2 separate regions of the Homo sapiens genome follow, and region 2 is linked to region 1. The links are contacts of gene promoters, found by promoter capture Hi-C in human tissues and cell types (Jung and others, 2019). All regions are on one chromosome and are shown on one strand. Each heading gives the region's core, a stretch centred on a gene start or on the middle of the fragment in contact. The rest is flanking DNA. Distances are from core to core; before and after follow the strand shown. Region 1 holds the start of PSEN1 (presenilin 1). Region 2 overlaps FAM161B (FAM161 centrosomal protein B).

The links. The method cuts DNA at HindIII sites, captures the fragments that hold promoters and counts their contacts. A contact is called where the count stands out against the background at its distance.
Region 2: a contact is called between a fragment that was not itself captured here and the fragment with the promoter of PSEN1 in region 1, in 1 of the 25 tissues and cell types used here (spleen).

Annotation. Positions count from the first base shown.
Region 1 is chr14:73,133,982-73,139,527 of GRCh38, reverse strand. PSEN1 (presenilin 1) reads right to left here and starts at 3,021. Exons shown (of 12, transcript NM_000021.4): 1 at 2,945-3,021. RefSeq lists an enhancer at 2,562-2,671 and silencers at 2,842-2,901, 3,162-3,241. The HindIII fragment of the contact is 9,269 bases long and covers 178-5,546 here.
Region 2 is chr14:73,940,177-73,945,722 of GRCh38, reverse strand. It overlaps FAM161B (FAM161 centrosomal protein B), which reads left to right. Exons shown (of 9, transcript NM_152445.3): 3 at 838-1,388; 4 at 3,008-3,354; 5 at 4,670-4,797. Among named protein-coding and RNA genes, the nearest start is that of FAM161B, 7.1 kb to the left of the region's middle. The HindIII fragment of the contact is 9,683 bases long and covers 1-5,546 here.

The DNA of each region.
Region 1 (5,546 bases), core at 1,772-4,271:
GCTCACTGCAACCTCCACCTTCTGGGTTCAAGCGATTCTCCTGCCTCACCTCCCGAGTAGCTGGGATAACAGGTACACGCCAACACACCCGGCTAATTTTTTGTATTTTTAGTAGACACAGGGTCTCACCATTTTGGCGAGGCTGGTCTCGAACTCCTGACCTCAGGTGATCTACCTGCCTCGGCCTCCCAAAGTGCTGGCAGATTACAGGTGTGAGCCACTGTGCCCAGCCTTTTTTTAAAAAAAAAACGAAGTCTCACTCTGTTGCCCAGGCTGGAGTGCAGTGGCGCGATCTCGGCTCACTGCAAGCTCCGCCTCCTGGGTTCACGCCATTGTCCTGCCTCAGCCTCCCGAGTAGCTGGGACTACAAGTGCCTGGCACCATGTCTGGCTAATTTTTTGTACTTTTAGTAGAGACGGGGTTTCACCGCGTGAGCCAGGATGGTCTCCATCTCCTGATCTGGTTATCCACCCGCCTCGGCCTCCCAAAGTGCTGGGTTTACAGGCGTGAGCCGCTGCGCCCGGCCACCCAGCCTCTTTTTACATTTTTTTTCTTTTTTTCTTGACAGAGTCTGGCTCTGTCGCCCAGGCTGGAGTGCAGTGGCGCGATCTCCGCTCACTGCAAGCTCCGCCTCCCGGGTTCACGCCATTCTCCTGCCTCAGCCTCCCGAGTAGCTGGGACTACAGGCGCCCGCCATCACGCCCGGCTAATTTTTTTTTTTTTGTATTTTTTAGTAGAGATGGGGTTTCACCGTGTTAGCCAGGATGTCTCGATCTCCTGACCTCATGATCCGCCCGCCACGGCCTCCCAAAGTGCTGGGATTACAGGGGTGAGCCACCGCGCTCGGCCTTTTTTTACCTTTAAAAATGTGTTTATGGCTAGGCACAGTGGCTTGTGCCTGTATCCCACCACTCTGGGAGGCCAAGGCGGGAGGATCACTTGACTCCAGGAGTTCAAGACCAGCCTGGGCAACATAGTGAGGCTCCCATCTCTAAAAAAATAAATAGCCGGCCGGGCAGGGTGGCTCACGCCTGTAATCGCAGCACTCTGGGAGGCCGAGGCGGGCGGATCACGAGGTCAGGAGATCGAGACCATACTGGCTAACACGGTGAAACCCCGTGTCTACTAAAAATACAAAAAAATTAGCCGGGCGTGGTGGCGGACGCCTGTAGTCCCAGCTGCTGGGGAGGATGAGGCAGGAGAATGGCGTGAACCCGGGAGGCGGAGCTTGCAGTGAGCTGAGATCGCGCCACTGCACTCCAGCCTGGGCGACAGAGCCAGACTCCGTCTCAAAAAATAAATAAATAAATAAATAAATAAATAAATAAATAAATAATAGTATGTTTATTAGAAAATTTAAAATAGGGATAATCACCTTGTGGTTCTCCCAGTCTGCATGCTAATAAATTTGTATGCCTTTTCTCCAAAAGAAAAACAAAACAGGTTTTTTTTTTTTTTGAGACAGTCTCACTCTTTTGCCCAGGCTGCAGTGCAGTGGCATAATCTTGGCTTACTGCAACCTCCTTCTCCCGGGTTCAAGTGATTCTCCTGCCTCAGCCTCGCTTGGGAGCAGCTGGGACTACAGGCGCGCGCCCCCACGCCCAGCTAATTTTTTGTAGAGCCGGGGTTTCGCCGTGTTGTCTGGTCTCGAACTCCTCAGCTCAAGGATCCGCCCCGCGGCCTCCCAAAGTGCTGGGATTACAGGCGTGAGCCACCGCCCCGGGCCTCACATTTTATTTCTATTGGCTAGCGCTGCTCTAAATCTTCTGTTCCTTCTGCTACACCAGGCCTAACACTCAAAATCCCTGCCAACCTTTTCCTTCCTGAAGCTTCCCTCCCCTTCCTCAGCTCTGGCGACCCTGCGCTGTGGTGGTTCTCCAACCACACTCATTCTCCTCAGCTGGCTCCTTGCTCTTCTTCCACCCCCTCGTTGCAAGTGTTCCTAAGTGTTTGCCTTGGCCTCCTCTTCCCCTTCCTTAGCTTAGACTTCTCCACTGCTCCAACATCAACTGGAAATCTATGGAATTGATTCCTGTTTTCAGCTCCAGTCCTGTTCACAGGGCATTTTCACCTGCTGGCACTTCCAAAGTGACACTTCCAAACCACTTCCTCGCCCTCCTCTCTAAACCAGGTCTTTCTTCCTAACTTCCTTATTTCTGAGAATGTCTCTGCCATGTTCTAAACTGAAAACCTCCTAGTCAACTTCACACTTTATTCCCTGATCCTCAATTGGTTCCCATGTCCCGTTAGTGTTTCTTGTAAGCCTCTGCCACCACCGCAGATCGAACTCTAATCACATCTCACCTGAATTATGGAAAAGTCACCTCAATTCTCTCACCCATCCCAGCCTCCACTATGGATTAATATGCCTAAAGCAGAGCTGACCACAACGGTGAGAAGAATCTGAGAGGGAAGCAGCAGCAAACACAAGAGTCACTGGACATGCATGCCTCGAGACAGTCCCGACCAAGGAGAAAGCATCAGACCCCGTCTTCCGCCTCGAACAAGAGGCGTGCGGACTTCGCCCAGAATGCTCGTCGCCCCTGGACAAGGACACACCCGGGGCGTGAGGCGCGGAGTTTCACCAGTTGCTCAAGCAGACCCAGCCCAAGACGCTTCCTCTTTCTCCTACTCCACTCCAGTTCAGACGGCTACTAATCCCGGCCCAAGGCACCTGCGCCCTGAGACGTCTTCGAGCAAACAGCATTTCCGGACCAAGGCTCCCCGGAATCTCTCTCCACCCGGCCGCGCCCGAAGCCCGAGAAACGGGCCGCCCCTCCTGGTTTCCCACACGGGGTTCCCCAGCCCCAACCGGCCGCGCCCCGCCCCTCATCTTTTAGGACACCGGCTTCGCGGCCCGGGCGGCCACAAAGGGCCGGGCCCTGCCCGCGGCCGCCCATGTCCGCGGTGCCTTCCTGGCTTGCCCGGACTCCCCATCACGCACATACGCTTCCCCGCCGCCCCGCTGCCGCCGCGGCTCGTAGCTCAGGTTCCTTCCAGACCAGCCGCTGTTTTGTTTCCGATGTGAAACCGCGGACCCCGGAGCTGCCTGTCCCAGGCCCCGCCCGAGAACCCTCACCGTTGTCGTCATTTCCGGCTCTGGCGTCGTTGGCGGCCGGCCCACGGAGGAGGGGAGGAGCCAGGAGGAAGGGGGCGGGGCCTCCGGCCTGGAGAAACGATTGCGGGGAGAACCCAGAGCTCCACCTGGCCTTCCCCACCTGACGGAATCCGCCCAGAGCGCTGGCGTGGGTTGTCGGGGTTCTGAGGCTGCTCGAGCTGAGGACGAAAGCCCCTATATAAATTGGGCCCAGCGTGTGCTTCTCCCGGCATACAAGCGATGGCCATCCTAAATTTAACACCTGTCATTTCTTTAGGGTACCTATTTGCGAACCAGCTGCATCACAATCAAGAGAATGCTGTTAAAATCGCAAATATCTCTGCCCTCTCCCACCACTCAATGAATCAAAACTTCTGGTGGGTGGCGAGAACCTGAGAAACTGCATTTTAAACATCCTCCGCGATTCTTGGACTCCAACTTTGACAACCAGTCTTTCTAGGTGGCAAGCTAGCTGAGAGCAGAAAATGTGTCTGGTTTGCTGGGTCACTTGATTTTTGCATCTGCCTGCTCTTTGTCCAGTTTTGGTAAAGACAGTACCAATGTCTAATTCATTAGACAGCATACCACACTTACACATATATCCAAAAGCTAAAACTAAAAAATGAATACTACCTTATTTAATCAAGGTGAACGGAGAAATGTCAAACATGGGTATTCAAAAAACCGAAAATGAAATTAACGGTACATGGTATCTGGGCAAGTTACATTCTTCTAAAGTTTCTTTAAAAATCCACCCCCAAGCGGCCGGGTGCAGTCGCTCACGCCTGTAATTCCGGCACTTTGGGAGGCCGAAGCAGGCGGATCATGAGGTTGGGAGTTCTAGACCAGCCTAACCAACATGGTGAAACCCCGTCTCTACTAAAAATACAAAAAAATTAGCCGGGTGTGGTGGCGCGCTCCTGTAATCCCAGCTACTCGGGAGGCTGCAGCAGGAGAATCGCTTGAACCCGTGAGCTGAGATCACACCACTGCACTCCAGCCTGGGAGACAGAGCAAGACTCCATCTCAAAAAATAAAAATTAAAATTAAAAAATAAAATCCACCCCAAGCTATCCCTTCACATTCCTATCGCATCAATCTCCAATCCCTCCTCCCAACCCACTGCCAACCTTGTTCAAAAACATGAGATTCTAATACTTTTTACACACAAAAGCTTCATATTTAAGAACAAAAGTAATATTTTCCATTAGCAGAATGAAAGATAAGTTGTGGGAGAAGGTTGAACGAAAAAAGATGTTTTTAAAATTCTTCACCTCCCCCACTTTAACAAGAGTAGGGATTTTAGTTTGTTCATTTACAAGTGCTCATGCTTGTCAGCAGCACATATACATTTTACAAGTGCTGAGAACAGTGCCTGATACATAACAGTGCCTGATACATACAATAGTTCAGTATTGAACAAATACAGGCTAAAACCCATCTATTTGTGAACTACTTCAATCTGATTGCAGTCCGCTAATATTAATAGGATGTCTTAAAATGCTGATGAACTATTCTTAGAAACAATCTACAAAAATTTTGGGCAAAGATATTCATGGAATATTATATAGCAAAAAATTGGGAAACTAAATATGGTACAATAGGCAGGGTGCGGTGGCTCACGCCTGTAATTCCAGCACTTTGGGAGGCCAAGGTGGGCGGCTCATCTGAGGTCAGGAGTTCGAGACCAGCCTGATCAACATGGAGAAACCCCGTCTCTACTAAAAATACAAAAAAAGTTAGCCAGGCGTGGTGGCGCATGCCTGTAATCCCAGCTACTTGGGAGGCTGAGGCAGAATTGCTTGAGCCTGGAAGGCAGAGGTTGCAGTGAACCGAGATTGCGCCATTGCATTCCAGCCTGGGCAACAAGAGCGAAACTATGTCTCAAAAAATAAAAATAAATAAATAAATAAATAAATAAATAAATAAATAAATAAATAAATGTGGTACAATAAATTATGGTCCACCCACCTCACAGAATGTCATGAAAATTTTTCATGAACGCCTGGTCACGGTGGCTCATGCCTGTAATCCCAGCACTTTGGGAGGCCAAGGCAGGAGGATCACTTGAGGTTGGGAGTACAAGACCAGCCTGGACAACATGGTGAAACCCCGTCTCTATTAAAAATACAAAAATTAGCCCGGCATGGTGGTGTGGGCCTGTAATCTCAGCTACTCAGGTGGCTGAGGCTTGAATCTGAGAAGGAAAGTTTGCAGTGAGCCGAGTTTGCACCACTGCACTCCAGCCTGGGAGACACAGTGAGACTCTGTTTTTCCCAAAAAAAAAAAAAAGTCCTGCAACAAAAAGGCAGTAAGATTTTAAAAAAATAGCAAACCCTAACATTGAATAACCAGCCTTCAGATAATTTTCTTCTCATTTTCTTTATGTCCTACTGTTAGGCCTCTGAGCCCAAGCCTTCACGTATACATCCGGATGGCCTGAGGCAAC
Region 2 (5,546 bases), core at 2,071-4,570, 810 kb before region 1:
GGCACCGTGTTTACGCCTCTAATTCCAGCACTTTGGGAAGCCGAGGTGGCTGGATCATGAGGTCAGGAGTTCAAGACCAGCCTGGCCAAGATGGTGAAACCCCGTCTCTACTAAAAATATAAAAAAATTAGCCGGGCATGGTGGCAGGTGCCTGTAATCCCAGCTACTCGGAAGGAGAGGCAGAGAATTGCTTGAATCTGGGAGGTGGAGGTTGCAGTGAGCCAAGATCACGCCCAGCTTGGGCAACAGTACAAGACTCCATCTCAAAAAATAAGTAAATAAATAATAAAAAATAAAAAAAAATACAGGGAAGCATTTCCTAAATACACTTTCCCTGAGAATGACAACAAAGTACCTTTATCTTGGTCAAGCCTTAGAAAGTAAATATTGAATGAGATAAAGTGTACATTATCTCATTACTTTATCTTATTTAATATTTACTTTCTCCTCCAATAACCTGGTAAGTAGACATTAATTTTTGCCACTCTACATAGGAGGAAATTGAGGTTTTAACAGAACTTTGCTCAAAGTTTGAAGCAAGATTTAAACCCAGGTCTGTCTGACTCTAAAGCTCTACTCTGCTCATTGTTCTCTCTCTCATATGAAATATTAGAGTGCAAAGTGGCAGTTCTTGGATCAATTCTGAGAAGAGACTTTCCATTAGGGCTGCCAGGATTGTCTGTGGGAAGGTCATGGACATAGAGGCCTGTGGGGCTGTGGTGTTAGGCTGAGCAGCCAGCTGTGACCAGTGGGAAGGGAGGACTGGGGAGGAGGTCTGGAGGGAGCAGGGCCTCCTGACTGCCCTGTCCTCCACTCACAGATCTGCTTTTTTCCCAGGTGTGGCTCCACAAGGCGCTGCAGCTCCCTGAACAACCTTCCCTCCAACATTCCCAGGCCTCAGACCCAGCCACCCTCAGGCTCCCGGCCTCCCTCCCAGCACAGAAGCGTCAGCTCCTGGGCATCATCCATTACTGTCCCTCGGCCATTCCGCATGACGCTGCGCGAGGCCCGGAAGAAGGCCGAGTGGCTGGGCTCACCTGCCTCCTTTGAGCAGGAGAGGCAGCGGGCCCAGAGGCAGGGTGAGGAAGAGGCCGAGTGCCACAGGCAGTTCCGGGCACAGCCTGTGCCTGCACATGTCTACCTGCCCCTCTACCAAGAGATCATGGAGCGCAGCGAGGCCCGAAGGCAGGCAGGGATCCAGAAGAGGAAGGAACTGCTCCTCTCTTCTTTGAAGCCCTTCAGCTTCCTGGAGAAGGAGGAGCAGCTAAAGGAAGCTGCTCGACAGAGAGACTTGGCAGCCACAGCTGAAGCCAAGATCTCCAAGCAGAAGGCCACCAGAAGGATTCCCAAGTCCATTCTGGAGCCAGCCCTTGGGGATAAACTCCAGGGTAAAGACATCCTTGCCACCTTGCTGCCTCCTGCCTCGGGGAACCAATCCCACCATAGGGATTTAGTCAGGGCCCAGGGATCTGCCTGGCTTGGAGATTTGCTGCTTGGGTGGACCCACTAGAGGCTGCACGCTTAGTGCAGGCCATTGGGGAGGGTTAGGTCTGTCTATACAATCAGGACCTGTATGGTGCCAGGAGTGAGAGGTCCCACAGTGTCCCCAAGGCTCGTCCTGTTGACATCTAAGTGAATGCACATGAGGGCCTCTGCACCAGCACAGGTGCAGGAATAGAGAACCAGTGAGACACCTGAGGACCAGCTTGGGCTCATGCCACCACCAGCACACTGCCCTGAGATGCTCCCCCATGGCTCCTTCGTCCTGGTGAGGTAGTGTCAATCGCCGAAATTACCTGGGGGATGATTATTTACACATTTCCAAAAGTATAGCTCCAAATAAGGGGCTCAGGCTTTATTCACTTTTCGGTAGCATGTGCCATGCTCCAGGCACTGTGCCATGGTGAACACACAGACATGGAGTTTGTAGATATGTGAGGAAAACAGATAAAGACAAATACATACAAATGTGGCGAGTTATTTACAAGGATTAAAAGGGGAAGCATGGGAGCATATATCAAAGGGACCTAACCCGGGGATTGGTGAAGCAAGGGAGCAGTTAGGGAAGGTCCCCTGAGAAAGTGGGCCCTGGGGCTGAACTGAAGGAGGGGCGAAGAGGGAGGAGAAGTGGAGCAGGCAGAATGTGGCATGGAGGGGAGAGAAAGCAGAGCATCTGCAAGGGATGGAAAGGTCGAGGGCTGAGAGAAGAGGGAGTGGGAAGGAAGAGGCAGGCATGGGCCAGACATGAGGAGCTTTGCAAGCCACGTTGGCGAGTCTGGACTTCATCCCAAGGGCACAGGGAAGCCACTGAGGGAGTGAGGCAGGGTGGCCCATGATCAGAAATATAGTTCAGAAGGATCCTTCTGATTGCTGTATAGATAATCTGAGAGGGCAGCAAGACTGGAGGGATGTTGAGCCAAGAGGAAGCTATTTCACAATTCAGTAGAGAAATTGTGCAACTGGTTGCAGGGATGAAAAAACGAGGATGGACTGGAGAGAGGTTAAAGAGGAGGAAATGACAGAACTTGTGACTGATGAGAGACACGGAGGAGTCAGTGATGTGGGCAAAGGGCCTGGGCAGCTGGGTGGATGGTAGGGCCTTTCTCTCAGATGGGGAAACCTGGGAGAGGAGCAGGTTACTGGCCCACTTCCTCTGCTTCATCTCTGAAGAAGCAATCATAGAAAGTGCTCAGTAAGTGTAGATGGTCACTGCTTCTGCAGCCTGATTGACACAGGCAGTGGTGTTCTGGATGACATTTATTAACAAGCTCTCCAGAAAAAAAAAAAAGGAAGCTGGTTTGTAATGTTTGTTATTTTCTGTGGCATAATTACTCCTATTCAGGCCATCTGCAGGCATCTCACAGGATGTTAACGTGTCAGAATTCCTGAAAAGTTCCTACTTGCCTCCAGTAACACTTACAGCTAGTGTGTAAAAGAGGGAAAGTTCTCCAACCCTGTAGGTTTCTTGCTTGGTCCTTTCTTACCCATCACCATCCTTTCTCCACAGAAGCTGAGCTCTTCAGGAAAATTCGCATCCAAATGAGAGCCCTGGACATGCTCCAGATGGCCTCTTCCCCTATCGCCTCCTCTAGTAACCGGGCTAACCCACAGCCCCGCACAGCCACCCGAACCCAGCAGGAAAAGCTTGGGTTTCTGCACACTAACTTCAGATTCCAGCCTCGGGTGAATCCTGTGGTCCCTGACTATGAGGGCCTTTACAAGGCCTTCCAGAGAAGAGCAGCCAAAAGAAGAGAAACCCAAGAGGCCACTCGCAACAAGCCCTTCTTGCTGAGGACCGCCAACCTGCGCCACCCTCAGCGGCCCTGTGATGCTGCCACCACCGGAAGGAGGCAGGTGAGAGCCCAGGCAGCTGTGGGAGGGTCAGGGCTGCGGCCTGAAATACAGGGTGGGGCCAGGTCTTCCTGGAAAGCACTTCTCAACAAGGTTTTCCTATCTTTTTTTTAAACACCAGCTCAGTTGTAAGCAGATTCACTTTCCTATAAACTCCAGACCACAGCCCAGCCTGGGCAACAGAGACCCCATCTCTAAAAGAAAAATACAAATATTTGCCACATGTGGTGGTGTGTACCTGTAGTTCCAGCCATTCAGGAGGCTGAGGTGGGAGGACCTTCTGGCTGCAGTGAGCCAAGATGATGCCACTGTACTCCAGCCTAGGCAACAGAGTGAGACCCCATCTAAAAACAACAACAAAAAACAGGCCAGGCGTGGTGGCTCACGCCTTTAATCCCAGCACTTTGAGAGGCCGAGGAGGGCAGATCATCTGAGGTCAGGAGTTCGAGACCAGCACGGCCAACATGGCAAAACCCCATCTCTACTAAAAATACAAAAATTAGCTGGGTGCGGTGGCGGGCACCTGTAATCCCAGCTACTTCAGAGGCTGAGGTAGGAGAATTGCTTGAACCTGGGAGGCGGAGATTGCAGTGAGCTGAGATTGTGCCACCGCAGGCCAGCCTGGACAACAAGAGTGAAAGTTCATCTCAAAAACAGAACACAACAGAAACCATAGGGACACTTCTTTTCCTCCCTTACTGTAGAAGGATTTCACAGAAATAAGTCCAAGCAGGCTTGAGAGGCAAGGAGTTGGGATCAGTTGTTGATGTCTCTATACCAATTCCAAGGAACTCTTCTCATTTGACTAAAAACTTTAGGATTGATATCCAAGTCTTGGCTTGGTTGTGAAACTTGAGATCTCTTTATCCTTGCCTTATTCCCAGGAAAAAAAATGAAGATTCTCATTTTCAGTCCTTCAGTGAAGCTGAATCCTAGTAAAGATAGAAAATGGCTGGGCGCGGTAGTTCACACCTGTAATCCCAGCACTTTGGGAGGCCGACACGGGTGGATCACCTGAGATCAGGAATTCGAGACCAGCCTGACCAACATGGTGAAACCCCGTCTGTACTAAAACTGCAAAAATGTAGCTGGGCATGGTGGCTCACAACCTGTATAGTCCCAGCTACGTGGGAGGCTGAGGCAGGAGAATTGCTTGAACCAGGCAGCTGGAGGTTGCAGTGAGCCGAGATTGCGCCACTGCACTCCAGCCTGGGCAAAAGAGCGAGACGAGACTCTGTCTCAAAAAAAAAAAAAAAAAAAAAAGATAGAAACTAATCACACATGCTGTCCCACCAATACCAACCTTTGTTTCTTCTAGGATTCCCCACAGCCACCAGCTACACCCCTGCCAAGGAGTCGTTCTCTGAGCGGCCTTGCTTCCCTCTCTGCCAACACTCTCCCTGTGCACATCACAGATGCCACCAGGAAGAGGGAATCTGCAGTCAGGTGAGTGGTCAGGCTGCACGAGACCCATGCTCTGATTCTGGCCCCAAATGCTGGAAACCTCCCTGCCAAGGGGCCTCCTTTCCTGTTATCAGAGATACCTCAAGGGGTCAAAGGGAATTTTCTGATCAGGACTGGAACAATTGCGGTTCTCCACACCTGGTGCTTGGAGAACAGCTAGCCATCATTCAGCACATATTCATAGTGGGCTTATTCTGTGCCAGGCACAGTGTTAAGGCTGGAGATCTTAGGGAACCTCCAGTTTATTATCTAGTCTGAAATACAGAAAAGCAAAGAAGCAATGGCCATATTTTTTGAGTAGTGCAATGATGGGGGGTAAAGGGGACTGTGAGGGCACTGGGCAGCCTGGAGCAGGGGGGTCTTGTCTTGTGGAATAGATGTCTAAAGTGAAACTGAAGAACAAGGAAGAGTTCGCCAGACAAAGCCTGGAGAGAAGGAAGGTTCCAGACAGAGAGAACATGGATAAAAGCCCATGGGTGAGAGGAAGGGAGTAGTGAGGAACAAGAATTCAGAGAAGCATGCTAGCAGGTGGCTGAAGTTGCCGCAAATATGAGACATCCATTGCATAGATTTGAGATTCTCTGAGATTCATCTTGGGAAGATGTCAGAGTCTGTTGGGCAGCAAGAGCCTGCTTATTTTTAACTCTTCAACTGACCTGATTCTGTTATGATGTTCTCATTAAGCCAGCCCCCAGCAAGGGTTCTTCCACCAGGCTTCTGAGCTGAAGTAG